Linked DNA regions of Homo sapiens: region 1 is linked to region 2. The links are contacts of gene promoters, found by promoter capture Hi-C in human tissues and cell types (Jung and others, 2019). All regions are on one chromosome and are shown on one strand. Each heading gives the region's core, a stretch centred on a gene start or on the middle of the fragment in contact. The rest is flanking DNA. Distances are from core to core; before and after follow the strand shown.

Region 1 (2,700 bases), core at 161-2,660, 930 kb before region 2:
TACAAAGACAAAACATGTTTGTGCCAGCAAAGACCTAATATTAAGGGAAGGTAGCATAAACAAAAACAGTTCCTTCTTTCTCCTGTAGTGACCCTTTGTGATTTGTAAAGTATATATCTTAATAAGATCCTCAGGGGTCTCCAAGTTTTCAAATGCCATATTCTCATCTGTTACCTCACCCCTCCCTCATTAAATGCTGTGAAGTATGACTGAAATTGTTATGGACTCTTTCAGAAGCTTAGTTATTAATAAATACAGAGCTAAAAATCAACAGTAAGATGCCTGTAATGAATTCTGCCACTAAGAGAAAATGAATACAATCTCTTTCTTCACTTCTGAAATAAGATTAGCTGTGATCTTATAGGTGTCTATAAACTCAAGGTGATGGTGGTGGTTGCAGACCATGACCTGAGCCACTACAGAACTGGAAGTTCCACTTCTTTACCTCAAATTTCTGTATTCTTGTATTTCTATATTTTGCTTTTTTTCTAAATGACAGATAATGTATAATTGATAGATAGAATATGTGTAGAATAAGTGCCACATTAACATGGAAACTATAGAAATGTCTGCATTTTACTTGGTTTATTTTACCCTCATTTTGTTGGAGAGAAAAAGATACACATTGGTTTCTTCCTATTTTTCCCAGCTATTGACCTGAAAAGTGGTTCTGGAAAAGTGTACCAAGGCCCTGCAAAAGGTGCTGCTGATACAACAATCATACTTTCAGATGAAGATTTCATGGAGGTGGTCCTGGGCAAGCTTGACCCTCAGAAGGTAATGTTCTCAAATGTTCATTTATTCATTGTTTTATTGTTTCCTCTTTTGACAATTGCAGTTTTTAAGCTGATGCCCAAATTCTGATTTATAAGCCAGGTTTCTTACAACTCTGAAGATGACACAGTTGCTACTGATACTCTGGTTGACAGGTCATATATTTCTTTTTTAATGGAGTTTCACCTGACACTTTTTAAGACTGAACCCACATCTAGATTTTTTAATATATTCTGTTATGTGTTCAAAGGTGAAAAACCATATGACATTAGTAGGTACTACATAAAATTAGACATTCCCAATAAATAAGATTAAGAAATCATTGAATATTGGAACTAGAAGGATATTTTAACCTAATAGCCCATGTCTTACTTAGGGTGAATCTTAGAGGCATTTCAGTGGAAAATCATGATTAACAGAAGAGTGCCTTCTGTGACGATTATTTAGTTAATATTATTATGAAACTTTTGACCAATCCACAAATATACAAAATTAAAGTAATTGATGTGGCAATTAGAATGGAGGAGAAAAATTTGTTATTTTCAATTTGTGATTATGTAGCTAGAAATTCCAAGGGAACTAACTTATTGATTCTTAGAATGAAGGAGTTCAAACAAATGGCTGAGTGCAGTTATTTAAAAATAGCTTTCACATAGGAGTAATTTGAATAAATGAGGAAATATATGATTTTCCTGTATAGAAAGACTAAAAGGAATTGTAAAGTAGTATAGTAGGTAAAAAGTAGTCTTTGGCATCAGATAAAATCTAAATTTGAATCTTGCCCCTGTCACTTCATCCAAAAACCTTAATTTTCTCATTTGTAAAATGAGTTTAATAATTTTAATGTTTACAAGGCTTATTATAAGAACTAAACCCAATAATATGTATGAAGAGCTTAGTACAGTGCTTGGCAATGCAGTGAACCCTCTGTTAATTTCTTTCCAGGAATTTATTTAGTACCTATTCAGGTTGTAGGTATTGGCTGAATTAAGACAAAACCCTACTGTATGGAGCTTCTTTTAGTGTACTAATGCAAAAGAAATAAAATCTCAAGTTAGAGAAGAGTAAGCCTGAGTATAGTGTTAGAGCAATGACTGGCAAACTTTTTCTGTAAAGGGTTACACAGTAAATATTTTAGGCTTTGTGGGCAAGATGGTCTCTGTTGCAGCTCTTCAGCTTTGCCATTGTAGCCTTAAAGTAGCCATAGAGAATATGTAAACAATGGAGTGTGACTGTGTTCCAATAAAACTTTATTTACAGAAACACACAGCCACTAGATCTGGTTCTCCAGCTGTTGTTTGCCAACCCTTGAGTTAGAATGTGACAGGACAGGGGAACTATTTTAAATAGGTTGTTTAAAATACCTTCTGGGGTTTTCTAAGGTACCTGAAATGCCTGACAGAGATTTGAACAGAGTATCAGAATGAGTCATCAGACTAAGGAAACAACTAATACAAAGGCCTGCCGTGCGAGGAACTTGGCTCCACTTAGTCTTCTCTGAGCTCCACAGTGAGAGAACCATCCCTCTACTTGACCACTCTGATGGGAAACTTTCTGGCATGTCAAACTTACTGTGACCAAAATAGAACTTGTGATTTATTTTTCTCCCCCAGTCTCTTCCTTCTTAATTAGTGGCACCATCATCTATTTACCCAAATTAATAAGCCCAGAAATGTAAAAATTATCTTAGATTCCTTCTGCCCTTCTGTATCCTTTCCTTCCTTACTTCTGTCTGATCTTTCTCCAAAATATATCTTGAATTCATCTTCTCTTCCTCTCTAGGGATATCACTGTGATCCTAGCCTCTGTCATCTCTCACCTGTCTTACTTCTTCCAGTCTTGTCTCTCCCATTCAGTCTGTTGTTCTCCACCCAGGAGCCAGAGTAATCCTTTAAAAATGTAAATCAGATTAGATTATTTATGTAT
Region 2 (2,700 bases), core at 88-2,587:
CTTTTGACACCACTTTCAAATTTCAATTTTTTCTTCTGTTCTCTTTCTTCCTCTATATTCCACATATGACTTCCAAAGGTTTTGTAAAGATGAATTGTCCAGGATTAAGAGAGTGATTGATTAAGAGCCTACAGAACTGGGAAGAGGAGAGCTGCCAAGCTTTTCTTTATGTGTAGCACAGTGGAGCTACCCAGAGTGTGAGAAGCAAGAAACAGAGAGCCTTGCTAAGGCACGACGAAAAGGGGAAGCCTATTAAAAGAATGATCTGGAGGAGTGTGCAGTGAAGAAAATAAAGTAGAGCCAGCCTGCTGGGTCAGTAGCTAATAGCCCATGGGTTTACAACTAAGGAAGTTAAAATTCTAGCTAATGAGAATTGTAGACACCTACTGAGAGTGAACCGAAGGCTTCCTATTAACTTCCCTTCTTGGGTCTTTTTGACAGAACAGTCAGAAAGTTGTTTCCTATTTGTTTAGTAGCAAAAGAGTTGAAATGGAGGTTTAAAAAATGATGAAAGAGAAGTTGGAGGCAATCTCTTACTCAGCTCCTTCACGAGGTCCAAATACGATGTCTCCCCCACTCCACTCAAAATGTAAATCAGCATAGGTCACAAAAAGAGGAAGGACAGTTAAAAAAAAAAAAAAGAGTTGGGCCAAATAAGACATACAGCCAAGATGACTGAGACAATCAGAGAGGATTTGGGGTGTGGGGACTTCAAATTAATAAATCCGGTATTAGCTTTGTGGAATTAGCAGGATTAGGGTACCTCTTTCAAGAACACTGGTTGAATTTCATGGTTTCAATAGATGACCATTAGCTGTTATGTGCACCCCCCCCCCCCTTTTTTCTTGCAGAAGTTAAGAAGTCTGCTTAACTCGCAGGTCACCAAGAGATTGATTAAAGGCCTCTGGACATCATTTGGGTTTGGATAAATCTGTAGGGCCACTTTACAGACTGTCTCCAACTCCTGATCCCACTGTGGTTCTTTCTGAATTGATCCAGGTCCCTGCTAGCAAGTGAAGCAGAAAGAATCCAGGCTAGTTGTGAGATGACATACAGCAAGCAGGCTGAGATGATGGGGACATTTCAGAACCAAGAGGAGGGGGCGGGCAGGACACGGACTTGTCTCCCCCACCTTGATGCCAAGGTGGCATCTGGGAGATATCTCGAAGGGCAACGTCGAGGGGACTGCAAGCGTCAACCCTGGCGCGGCAGCACGGCGCCCCTCTCCGCGGGCGGGGAGCGAGCGCGTGTGCGCGAGAGCGCCGGGCGGCGGCGGGAGGAGGCGCAGGCGCGCTGCTCGCCCGTCTGCAGCCCCGAGCCGAGCGCCGCGTCTCGGGAGTTGATGGCAGCACCACTGTGCGGCCGCCCGGCCGAGCGCGGAGCGCAGCCACTCGCCGCTGCCCAGGGAGCGCCCAAGATGTGGGGGGACCGGGGCGGCAGCGGCCGTAGCAGCGCCAGGGACGGGGGCACGCAGCAGCCTCCGCTCGCCCGCCTGTCCTGACCTGCCTCGCTTGCCCCCAAAGAATGTCAGCCAAGTCCAAGGGGAACCCCTCCTCGTCCTGTCCAGCCGAGGGACCGCCGGCAGCCTCCAAAACCAAGGTGAAGGAACAGATCAAGATCATCGTGGAGGATTTGGAATTAGTCCTGGGCGACCTGAAGGACGTGGCCAAGGAACTTAAGGAGGTGAGAGGCGCAGGGGTGGGGAGGGAGTTCGGCACCCTTCGACCCCTCCGGGGTCCCCTTTCCGATTTTCAGCAGGGACAGCCAGATTTCCAAACTCCTGGGAAACTACAGAAAAGGCGCCTGCAGACGGACTTTCTTTGCTCCTGGAGTCCTGAGAGGAGTTGTTGTTGCACTTTTTAATTTTTTTTTTTAATCAGGAAGAAATCAACTAGTGTTTTAATCGATGGACCTGGGCTGGTGGGAGGGATGAACGCACGCGTGTCTCTGAATCTGTGTGTGTGACGACGGGGGAGAGGGTTAGCTGGGGGTGTGTCGGCAGAGGAAGTCGTGAGCAGCCCGGCTGGAGCGTGCAAGATGCTCCTCTCCTGCCCTATTGCTTCCCCAGAGTCCTTTGGCAAGTCCGCTGCCTATCTGTCAGCCTCCCCAAGTCAGGGCTGAAGAGGGGCCGGGTTCTGGGCCCTGGGCCAGATCAGGGAGGGCAGCCTGGAGGAAGCTTGGCTCAGACTACCCTCCCTGTCTCTCGAGCCTCGCTGTAGGGAAGGCGACCCGGGCTGCTGGCAGCCTTGGGGCTAAGGAGGGGGTCTGGGACTTTCTCACTTTCTCAGTTTCTGAAGCATCCCCTGCTCTCCTCCGAACGTCGTTACCAGTAACTCTGGGCCTTCCCGCCACCCTACCTCTGCTTCCTTCCTTCCACCCTGTCGCCACTTGGCATTGAACCCGAGAAGCAGGACGCGCAGGAGAGTGTATGTGTGGCCGGGGTCTTGCCATTGGCGTCCTGGCTCTCTGCAGCTGGGACTGCTTCGGTTCTTCCCCGCTTTTCCTATCCCACTTCGGTTCAGCCCTACTCCCGCCCGCCCCTAGCCCCAGGTGATCCAGATGGAAAGAAGCAGAGAAGGTGTCAGGGCTGAGGCTGCGTAACTCAGGCGGCGGCTCCGGGCGGGGGCGGGGGCCGGGCTGGGAGGGGTGGGGTCTCCCGAGCCAGGCTGGCTGCCGGCGGCGTCGCGGAGCTGGTAGCAG

The links. Contacts are between HindIII fragments. The study calls those that stand out against the background at their distance.
Region 1: a contact is called between a fragment that was not itself captured here and the fragment with the promoter of PRR16 in region 2, in 1 of the 25 tissues and cell types used here (dorsolateral prefrontal cortex).

The regions. Positions count from the first base shown.
Region 1 is chr5:119,535,774-119,538,473 of GRCh38, forward strand. HSD17B4 (hydroxysteroid 17-beta dehydrogenase 4) reads left to right here. Exons shown (of 24, transcript NM_000414.4): 23 at 650-777. Among named protein-coding and RNA genes, the nearest start is that of HSD17B4, 85 kb to the left of the region's middle. RefSeq lists an enhancer at 2,354-2,433. The HindIII fragment of the contact is 7,083 bases long and covers 1-2,700 here.
Region 2 is chr5:120,462,963-120,465,662 of GRCh38, forward strand. PRR16 (proline rich 16) reads left to right here and starts at 1,338. Exons shown (of 2, transcript NM_001300783.2): 1 at 1,338-1,683. The coding sequence starts at 1,525. RefSeq lists a silencer at 1,257-1,306 and an enhancer at 1,712-2,213. The HindIII fragment of the contact is 4,324 bases long and covers 1-2,700 here.